Regions from separate parts of the Homo sapiens genome. Here all the other regions are linked to region 3. The links are contacts of gene promoters, found by promoter capture Hi-C in blood cells and fetal thymus (Javierre and others, 2016). All regions are on one chromosome and are shown on one strand. Each heading gives the region's core, a stretch centred on a gene start or on the middle of the fragment in contact. The rest is flanking DNA. Distances are from core to core; before and after follow the strand shown.

Evidence for each region. The method cuts DNA at HindIII sites, captures the fragments that hold promoters and counts their contacts. A CHiCAGO score of 5 or more calls a contact.
Region 1: a contact is called between a fragment that was not itself captured here and the fragment with the promoter of TIGD7 in region 3, in 1 of 17 cell types (naive CD8 T cells). The highest score is 5.3, in naive CD8 T cells.
Region 2: a fragment that was not itself captured here is called in contact with the fragment with the promoter of TIGD7 in region 3 in 11 of 17 cell types (erythroblasts, naive CD8 T cells, naive CD4 T cells and 8 more); the score reaches 9.0 in erythroblasts.

The regions. Positions count from the first base shown.
Region 1 is chr16:3,507,631-3,511,271 of GRCh38, forward strand. It overlaps CLUAP1 (clusterin associated protein 1), which reads left to right. Exons shown (of 12, transcript NM_015041.3): 4 at 659-838. Among named protein-coding and RNA genes, the nearest start is that of CLUAP1, 8.4 kb to the left of the region's middle. RefSeq lists an enhancer at 2,285-2,344. The HindIII fragment of the contact is 1,091 bases long and covers 1,025-2,115 here.
Region 2 is chr16:3,446,769-3,450,351 of GRCh38, forward strand. NAA60 (N-alpha-acetyltransferase 60, NatF catalytic subunit) reads left to right here. Exons shown (of 8, transcript NM_001083601.3): 2 at 1,703-1,772. Among named protein-coding and RNA genes, the nearest start is that of NAA60, 4.9 kb to the left of the region's middle. The HindIII fragment of the contact is 4,492 bases long and covers 1-3,583 here.
Region 3 is chr16:3,303,357-3,306,743 of GRCh38, forward strand. It overlaps TIGD7 (tigger transposable element derived 7), which reads right to left and starts at 2,074. Exons shown (of 2, transcript NM_033208.4): 1 at 1,856-2,074. It overlaps ZNF75A (zinc finger protein 75A), which reads left to right and starts at 2,141. Exons shown (of 7, transcript NM_001302109.2): 1 at 2,141-2,287. RefSeq lists an enhancer at 1,635-2,164. The HindIII fragment of the contact is 19,814 bases long and covers 1-3,387 here.

The DNA.
Region 1 (3,641 bases), core at 320-2,819, 200 kb after region 3:
GGGCCAAGTTCCATTCCAAATAACCACTATTTTAAATCTCTTCCAGAGTTTGTGTGTGTGTGTGTGTGTGTGTGTGTGTGTGTGTGTGCAAATAAAAATATATATTTTTCCTTTGTTTTACACAAATGGTACTGTATTCTACTTGATGTACTTACTGTACACTACAAGATGTTTAGCATCTTGCTTTACTTAATGGTATATTTTAGAGAACTTTCCAAATACATATAGAATTTCCTCATTCTGTTTACGCCTGAGTGGTATTGCTTGCATGGATTTGCCATAATTTATGTAATTTATATAGGTAGGCTTTTAGGTTGTCTGAAGCTTTGCTCTTTGGAACAGTGCTGTAACAAATAACCTGTACATCTCATTTTGTTTGTGTTTGAGTGTGTCCCTAGAATAAGTTCTTAGATTTGGGATTGCTGGGTCAAAAGATATGTGCATTTGTAATTTTGATGTCTTTTACCAAATTGCTCTCCATCAAGATTGTCCCAGTTTATACAACCACTCACAATGTTTGAGTCACTTGAATGCTTTGCTTTTATTAGGTTATATCCCAGTTGTCAGCAGAGGCATTTTCAACTCACCTACATGGGATTTAGTTTAGACATTACATGGAAAGGGCCTTCAACTTTTTTTTTTTTTGGTCTAAAAATAGGCCACCAAGGCACATATAAAACTCAACACTAAGAAGCTTTATCAAGCAGATGGGTATGCGGTAAAAGAGCTGCTGAAGATCACATCTGTCCTTTATAATGCTATGAAGACCAAGGGGATGGAGGGCTCTGAAATAGTAGAGGAAGATGTCAACAAGTTCAAGTTTGATCTTGGCTCAAAGGTAAGGACAACAAAAGCCTTGTAGTGGGCGATGGAGCGTTGATTTCTTGAGCTCTGAAGTGGAAGGAGTCTGCTACAGCTCCGCTGCTTTTCTTCCTCCTCAGCTGAGGGCAGTTTGTCAGTTTTGTGCTCATCAGCATTTGGATAAAGTCAAAGTCACAATCCACTAATTCAACTATTTATTAAAAGCTTAGTATTTGTCAGGTAGCATTCAAGCGCTGAGGATACAGTTGTGAACAAAAAGGACAAAAATCGTGTGTTTATTCTCTTCAGTTAGGGGAGTCAGACTGTGAACAATAAGAGGTGTGGAAGGCCAGATGCAGTGCAGGCTGTGGAGAATAATAAGCTGGGATGGGGATGGATGCTGCCCAGAGTGATCTTAAATCGGGTGATCAGGAAGGCCTCATGGATTGGATGGTGTTTCCAGCAGAGATCCAAGGGAGGGAAAGAGTGAGTTGTGCGGGTGGCGGGTGGCGTCAGGGTGTCTCAGGATGATAATTTGTTTTGGGCTGGGTGCAGTGACTCACTCCTGTAAGCCAAACACTTTGGGAGGCCGAGGTGGGAGGATCCTTTGATGCCAAGAGTTCCAGACCAACCTGGGCAACATAGTGAGACGCCATTTTTACCAAAAAAAAGAAAAAAATTAGCTAGGCGTGGTGGTACACACCTGTGGTCCCAGCTGCCCAGGAGGCTGAGGTGGGAAGATCTCTTGAGCCCAGGCAGTCAAGCCATGTTCATGGCACTGCGCTCCCGCCTAGGCAACAGAACGAGACCTTGTCTGGGGGGAAGAAAAAAAATGTGTTTTGTGTGTTTGAGGAAAAGCAAGGAGGCCGTGTGATGAGGGTTGGGATTGACAGACCCTCTGGCGCCTGGGAAGCCCCTGGAAAGCCTTTGTCTTTGCCTCTAAGGTGGGAATCGTTGGGATCCAAGCGGAACCTTCTGTGCTTATTTCCCGTCCAAAGGGTTGCTCTGGCTGCTGAGCCGCCATCAGACCGAAGCAGGCGGCAGGGCTGGAAGCAGCGAGCCTGTTTGGAGAGTGAGGGGTGACCGTGGCTTTGAGCAGAGTGCTGGTGGGACAGGTGCCGTCAGGTGTCAGGGAGCGACCACAGCAGCAAGCCAGAAATAAAGGTTAAGCCGTTACTCTGAGGCCCAAGGCCTCAGAGCAGGAGACCTAGGAATGAAGGCCCCGGGGCTGGGAGTGCACCTAAGAGTGTGGCCACGCAGGGTACGTGAAACCACAGTGCACTGGCTGAGCTCCAAGTCTGCTGCAGGGAAGAAAGCTTCCCCTGTGAGGCCTGCTAGGTGAGGCCTTGTCATGGTCTATAGTTGGGCTTGAAAAGCCACACACAGCTTTTTTGTTTTGTTTTTGTTTTGTTTTGAGACGGAGTTTCAGTCTGTGGCCCAGGCTGGAGTGCAATGGCACGATCTTGGCTCGCTGCGCCTCTGCCTCCCAGGTTCAAGAGATTCTTCTGCCTCAGCCTCCTAAGTAGCTGGGATTACAGGTACACACCACCATGCCCAGCTAATTTTTTTTTTTTTTTTTTGAGATGGAGTTTCACTCTTGTTGCCCAGGCTGGAGTGCAATGGCACAATCTCAGCTCACTGCAACCTCTGCCTCCCAGGTTCAAGTGATTCTTCTGCCTCAGCCTCCTGAGTAGCTGAGATTACAGGCATGCGCCACCACACCCAGCTAATTTTTTACTTGTAGTAGAGTCAGGGTTTCTCCATGTTGGTCAGGCTAGTCTCGAACTCCTGACCTCAGGTGATCTGCCCGCCTCAGCCTCCCAAAGTGCTAGGATTACAGGCGTGAGCCACCGCACCCGGCTTTGTATTTTTTTTTTTTTTTTTAGCAGAGATGGGGTTTCACCATGTTGGCCAGCTAGTCTCAAACTCCTGACCTCAGGTGATCTGCCTGCCTCGGCCTCCCGTAGTGCTGGGATTATAGGCGTGAGCCACCGCGCCTGTCCTCACATGTGGGTTTTTAACCAGGAGCGACACTCGTCAGCAAGAGAAGTGTCTAGAGATTGGGGCATATTTTGATGGTAGATCTCACGGGATGAGGCATGGGTTGAGAGTAAGTCAGGTGCTACAGGCCGGGTCTTGGGGCAGCCGTGCGGCAGAGCTTGCAGAGCTCATGGGTGTGTTCCGCCTCTGTGCTGTACTCTACGGGAACCACTGGCCACATGTGGCAAGCACAACTGAGGAACTGAGTTGAGTTCTGCATTTTCTTTAATTCTTAAGTAATTTAAGTGAAAATGGCCACATGTGGCTATTGGTTACTATATTAGACATCACTGCTCTGAAGTTTTTTGTGTGAGCCCCTGGAAGGATGAAGTTGCCATGTACTGAAGCAGAGAAGGTTCTGCACATGCTCCATTTGCCACGCCGATTGGCTGTCCAGGTGGAGATGGTGCACAGGTAGCTGGTATGTGAAACTAGAGCCCAGGGAAAGCCCAGGCTGGAGCTGGGAGCTGGGGAGCAATCAGCACACAGATGGTATTAAAGCCTTGAGGGTAGGAGCAGAGCCAGCAGAAAAGACGGGGGGTCCAGGAATGAAACTCTGACTCGCTCCACTTTTGAGAAGCAGAGAAGGTGACAGACTCCTGCAAAGAAGTTTGGGGATGTGCTGCTCGGAAGGGAAGAAAAGCAGCTAGAGCCAGAGCAGGCTGGATCCTGGAGGACTAAGGAAGAGGGAAGCAAGCTATCAAAGCCATCAGCTGCAAATGAAGAGGGAGAGTTGTTGCTAGTGGGTTGAAAATGAGAGCCAGAAGGTGAGGATTGGTTGTCCAGGAGAGAGGGAGAGT
Region 2 (3,583 bases), core at 111-2,610, 140 kb after region 3:
ACCATTTAATTTTTGTATTTTTAGTAGAGATGCAGTTTTGCCATGTTGGCCAGGCTGGTCTCAAACTCCTGGCCTCAAGTGATCCGCCCATGTCAGCCTCCCAAAGTGCTGGGATTACAGGTATGAGCCACCGCACCTGGCCTGCTCACTGCAACCTCCATCTCCCAGGTTCAAGCAATTCTTCTGGCTCAGCCTCCCGAGTAGCTGGGACTATAGGTGCGTACCACCACACCTGGCGAATTTTTGTATTTTTAGTAGAGGACGGGTTTTCCCCATATTGGCCAGGCTGGTCTCGAACTCCTGACCTTGTGATCTGCCCGCCTTGGCCTCCCAAAGTGCTGGGATTACAGGCGTGAGCCCCTGCCCCCGGCCCCTATTCTTAAGTATATATCTTTTCCCTAGTGATTTTTATGATGATGCAGCTGTATATTGAAACGGAAAGATACTCATTTTTGGGAGTAAAATTGGTTATGAAACAAAAACAATAACAAAGTTGCTTTTGAAGACTATGCGTTAAAATGGTAGTGGTAGTTATATTTTTAATTTTTATGGGTACATAGTAGGTGTATATATTTATGTGGTACATGAAATATTTTGATGCAGGCATGCAATGTGTAATCACTTCAAGGTAAATGGGGTATCTTCCCTGGCGATGTTTAACATGATTTCCAGAATGAATTGCTCACTACGTTTGGTGTGTTTTCCATTCCCAGATGGTACTGCCTTTTAAGGTCTATTACTTAAACATAAGTATGGCTCTGGTTCTTACCGCCTTTACCGTATCCTTCATGGGAAGTTGATACTGATCGGAAACTGACACAGAGCCTTCTCACCTACACTAAGGGGGCCTAGGTAAGCAAGATTATCTTTCTCCCAACTTCAGCAAGAGGTTTTCTTACTGGTGTTCAGAATGCTTGATTGAGCAGTTAGAAAACTGTTGCTACCTAGTCTCCAGTCTTATAAGGGGACAATGGCTGCAAGTCATGCCTGCAAGAACAAGAGGCTCACACAGTTTTGAAATTAGCACAACTTCTAGCTGGATAGGAGTCTTTTTAGTTTCATTTAGCCTTGAGTTGAAACTAATAGGAGTCTTTTAATTAGAAAAAAGCTCAGGGCTCTAAACGTACCTTCAACATGTTAATTCTGTTACCAAAAACTGGCTTGGTCTGTGTTAACTCCCAACAGAATTCTTTTTCAGTCACTGAGGCAGAGGTGCTTCCAGAGAAAGATTCTTGACCTACTCATACTGAATAATTATCGTTACTAGAAGCTGCAACCAAAGACTCCTGGAGGGTAGTAAGAGGTACAGAGAATGCAGGTTAGATACAGTGAGGACAGAGAAGAAAGGATGGGTTGGAGGCTGGGCGTGGTCACTCACACCTATAATTCCAGCTACTTTAGAGGCTGAAGCAAGAGAATCACTTGAGTCCAGGAGTTCGAGGCTGCAGTGAGCTAGCATTGTGCCACTGCACTCCAGCTTGGATGACAGAGCAAGACCTTGTCTCAAAAAAAAAAAAAAAAAAAACATGGGTTGCTTTGTAGTTTAGAGAACTACATGTTTAGATAGTTAATTTTTCCCCAAAAGGGCCCATCAGATTGATACTCTGAGATCCAGGGTTTGTCTGACACTCATTAGCCTATGAGTTGTAGAGATGGGATGGCCAGGAGTGAAGTGATGGCCTTGTGTCTTTCTCCCCTGCAGCATACAGAAAGGCTGTACCTGGAGGAAGGAAGTGCGGAGCCAGCCTGAGTTGGGAGAAGAGCTCCAGAGAGTGAGTCAAAGCGCTCTGTGTCCTGCTATTAATGATGCCCTCATAGTCAGAGGAAGCCTACTTAAGTGAAATCCATTTTTGACCTGTCAAGTATTAAATATTCTCTTAATTTTTAGTACTGAATGATAGAAGGCGCCTAGTGAAACAAATGCTTTCACTTTTTTGCTAGGAGGGTAAATGAGTATATTCTTACGTTAGGTACACAGGGATACAGTACAAGTATGCCAGCCTCTTTAAACTATAAAGAAGTAAACAAGATTTGGTTTAAGCATCAGTCTCTTGTGAGTCTGATGGGTAAGCCCAGTCTCAGGGCACACTGACAATGTTAGTGGAGAACGAGACTCTCCCAGTGTGCTGCCCTGACCCTCTGAGATTGGTCTGTGTAGCCACGTGGTGGTCATCCTGTGCCACCTCTGGTTTGGTTCTAATCAAAGGAAGCAGTATCATCTGTGGTGATCCGTCTTACACACTTGCATCATTTTATACCAAAGGAGAATTTCTTTTGTTAAAAATTTATTTTTCATTATCTACTCATAAAGAAGGAGCCAAAGGGCTGGGCGCAGTGGCTCACGCCTGTAATCCCAGCACTTTAGGAGGTGAGGCGGGTAGATCTCTGGAGGTCAGGAGTTCGAGACCAGCCTGCCCAACATGTTGAAACCCCATCTCTACTAAAAAATACAAAAATGTAGCCGGGTGTGCTGGGCGTGGTGGCTCACGTCTGTAATCCCAGCACTTTGGGAGGCCAAGGCAGGTGGATCATGAGGTCAGGAGATCGAGACCATCCTGGCTAACACGGTGAAACCCCATCTTTACTAAAAATACAAAAAATTAGCTGGGCGTGGTGGTGGGCACCTGTAGTCCCAGCTACTTGGGAGGCTGAGGCAGGAGAATGGTGTGAACCTGGGAGGTGACAGTTGCAGTGAGCCGAGATCACACCACTGTACTCCAGACTGGGCGACAGAGCAAGACTCTGTCTCAGAAAAAAAAAGAAAAATTTAGCCAGGCATGGTGGCGCCCAACTGTAGTCCCAGCTACTCGGGAGGCTAAGGAAGAAGAATTGCTTGAACTCAGGAAATGGAGGTTGCAGTGAGCTGAGATCGCACCACTGCACTCCAGCCTGGGTGACAGAGCGAGACCCCATCTGATATGGTTTGGCTGTGTCCCCACCCAAATCTCATCTGCAATTCCCATATATTATGGGAGGGACCCAGTAGGAGGTAATTGAATCGTGGGGCAGGTCTTTCCCATGCTGTTCTCATGATAGTGAATAAGTCTCACGAGATCTAATGGTTTTTAAAAAGGGGAGTTTCCCTGCACAAGCCCTCTTTTGTCTGCCACCATGTGAGACATGCCTTTTACCTTCCACCGTAATTGTGAGGCCTCCCCAGCCACGTGGAACTGTAAGTCCATTAAACCTCTTTTTTTTGTAAATTGCGCAGTCTCAGGTATGTCTTTATCAGCAGTGTGAAAACAGACTAATACATCGTCTCAAAAAAAGAGAAAAGAAGAAGAAGGAACTAAAGAAGAATTTCTTTGGAAGCAAAATATTTGGAAGCAAAATATTTGGCTCCTGACTGAAAGGGTTTTGATCCATGCATACATTAATAAACCCTTCAGAACCATGAGTTGGGATAATTCACTGTCCCTTGTGCTAGTCTCATGGAGCTTTTCTGCTCTTCTGGGAGTGCTCCTGGGGTGGTCTGGAGGCCTCTCAGGCAGAGCAGAGGCTGGTCAGCAAGCCACAGGGCTTGCCATGAAGTGGTTTGTTCATGATTTGTTTCTGGGACCCTGGGAAAAATGTTCTCAGGGTC
Region 3 (3,387 bases), core at 824-3,323:
ATCAGGCCTGTCAATGATATCCAAGGGCACTGCTTAGCACTGCTAGCAGAACTTCACTTATTCAACTTAATAAATTCTAATTATATATTCAGCATTGGGCCAGGTGATGAGAATCTTAATGCTGATGGCGCTACTGTCCACTGGTTCTGATAGACTGAGAATATTTACTGCTGAAGAAATGAAGTCCCAACCTGGCTGAGATTTTAAGGAAATGAACCTACTTAGACACAAATTCAAGTGACTTAGGCAGATGCTCATTATTAAATCTGTTTATCTTTCTCTCTCACTTAAAAAGGATCAAGATCTATGCCTAAGAGGAGTTACATACCATCCCATCCAAAAGCAAAAATAGCATAATGGCCTGGTAATGGCCTCTCATCTTCATTCTCACCTTAAACTTACCTTAGATGAACTGCCATAGAAAGCAGCTCAGTCCAAAACGCTCAAATGGTGCTCCAGGATTTACTTTTTTGTATTGTTTTGTTTTGTTTTTTGCGACGGAGTCTCGCTCTGTCGCCCAGGCTGGAATGCAGTGGCGTGAACTCGGCTCACTGCAAGCTCCGCCTCCCGGGTTCACGCCATTCTCCTGCCTCAGCCTCCCGAGTAGCTGGGACTACAGGCGCCCACCACCACGCCCGGCTAATTTTTTTTTGTATTTTTTAGTAGAGACGGGGTTTCACCATGTTAGCCAGGATGGTCTCGATCTCCTGACCTCATGATCCGCCCGCCTCGGCCTCCCAAAGTGCTGGGATTACAGGCGTAAGCCACCGCGCCCGGCCAGGATTTACTTTCTTAAATGCACTCTTTTCATTCCCATTCAAAGGACTCCAGTATAAGTGCCACATAAACTCGTTTTCTAACTTTTAAAACTCTTCCTCTAAATGCAGCCCAACTCAGTAAAAACGTACCTAAGATCTCACAGTCTAATGTTTCCAGCTTTTAAAGCCTTTACTCCTACCCTTCCCTCTGCCTGGAAAGTGTCTCCATTCCCTGCTGTGGACAAAATCCCTCAAGGTCTTTTATAATTTCCCCCAACCCCAAATCAACTTGGATTTTCTTGGAGTTCTCACAGCATTCAGTTTATGTCCTATTCTTACCCTTGTGTTACTGATATTCACGAAATTGCTCAGTCCTTTCAAGAGATTGCTTAAGGACAAAGACTTCTTACTCAACTCTGCAATATTGGCTACACATAGCTGACTTAATAAATAGTCCCTTGACTGGTATAAGCTGACGTTACAAAAACTGGTAATTCCGAAACCACTCATACTGGACTTATTAAATAATCCCTCAACTGGTACAGACTGACATTACAAAAACGGATTAATTCAGAGATCACTGAACACCCAAAACACTCAGATTCTTATAACTATGATTCAGTAAATATGTGTGGAATGCCTATCTTACCAGGTGACTATGTTAGGCGCTGCATGAGATATAAGATGAAAACAAGGTTCCCATTTTCCAGGGAAGAATACTGGAGTGGAAAACGCAGAGGATACCACAACAGGAGAGCTATTTCCGATTAGCGGCCGCCACTGCTGAGCTATGTGACCCTGAGCAAGTCACTTCTTAGGTCTCCGTTTCTCTGTCAAGGAGAGATAGAAAAAGAACCTATTTCACAGGTTCAAACCTACCTCAAGAAAAAATAGTTGTGGGGAATGCGTCACGAGACCTAGAAAACGGTACAAAACCCTCGGGGGGCCGCTGTTTCTGACCTAGCGAGTGGCCCGACCCGGACAAAATGCCTCTTCCTCGAGGAGGCGGCGACGAGCCCAGCAACAGCTCGAGCACGGCCGGCCGGGCCGCGGGAAGCCCGAGAACGCGGCGCGCGCAGCTGGGAGGCGACCCTTACCCGGCGAGGCTCCCGGGACCAAACGCCGCCCGACAGCCACGCAGAACAGACGCGGCAGTGCGACGCCTCCCCCACTGGGGACACGAGACAGCGACAGCCACGCGGTGAGCCGGTACAAGGCCCTCTAGGCTTCAGCGGGTCTGGATACTCGGTGGCATTAACCCTTCCCTACCGCCGGGGAAGACAGCAGTTTCTCTGGCGAGGAAGTAGGCCGGGCTCAGGCGCCTTAGCCAGAGGGCGGGCCTGCGCCACCCTCGGAAAGCGTCACTTCCACTTCCGGCCGGCGCTCTGGCTCTGTACCTGGACAGGGCTGCGGTAGGCCAGCGGTGGGCTGGCGGTTGCGCTCCTCAGATCGGCGGCCTTTCGGGCGGTGGCTTGCGTTTGAGCCTCAGAAAGCGAGGAGCGGCCTCCACGGAAGCCAAGCTGGCCGAGGTAACCGAGAAGCGGCTTCCCCTATGGCTTCGACCCTGGAGCCGCTGGAGCGGCGGCGGCCGCAGGGAGGCAGCCATTTTCCGTAGGCGGTGGCCGCGGCGCTTCCGGGCCGCGCGGCTGGAGCCTGAGGCGGGGCCACCGTCGGGCACGAGAAACCATTCTCTCCCCGCTTTTCGCAGCTGTATCCCAGAGGCGCGGCTGAAGCTCGCTGGGACACTGCCCGCTTGCCCAGTGCCCACGGGCACGCCTGTCGCAGACACAGGCTGTGGCGAATCCGAGTGCTGGCGGGCAGCAGTGCCTGCAGCTGCGCCCGCAGACTCTTTCCCGCCTCCGCCGGCATTTCCGTGTCCGGCCGATGTCATGCGGTCGGTTGAGCCTCAGGGCTAGCAGCTTCTACTGATGCAAAAACATAGGAAGTGTCTCTTTGCTTCTGGAACCGGGGTGGGCAGCAAGGAGCTGGCCACTTCTTTGAATACCGGTGGCATCCTGGGCAGAATTTCGGTGCCGTTTCTGCTGGCTCACTTCAGGAAAAGTGAGGCTCACGGCTCTCCTCAGCCCCCCTTAGAAGTCTAAATGACCTTTGGAGAAATACAAAGTCAGCAGAAAGTTTCACTTTCATCGTCACCAACTCCTGTTGGAGTTGATATTTCATAAACATCAGCGACAGAAAGAAAATACGACTTGATATTTTGTAAATAAAATATCCTTTTTTACAAGTTGATATTTTGTAAACAGAGGTCAGCTGTAATTTTCTCCAGATCAAGTAAGCACAGTTAAAAATTCATATAGGCCTGGCGCGGTGTTTGACGCCTGTAATCCCAGCACTTTGGGAGGCCAAGATGGGTGGATCACGAGGTCAGGAGATCGAGACCACCCTGGCCAAGATGGTGAAACCCTGTCTCTACTAAAAACACAAAAATTAGCCGGGCATGGTGGCACGCGCCTGTAATCCCAGCTAGTCGGGAGGCTGAGGCAGGAGAATGGCTTCAACCGGGGAGGTGGAAGTTGCAGTGAGCTGAGATCACGCCACTGCACTCCAGCCTGGGTGACAGGGCGAGACTCCATCTCAAAAAAAAAAACAAAATTCGTATAAATCATCT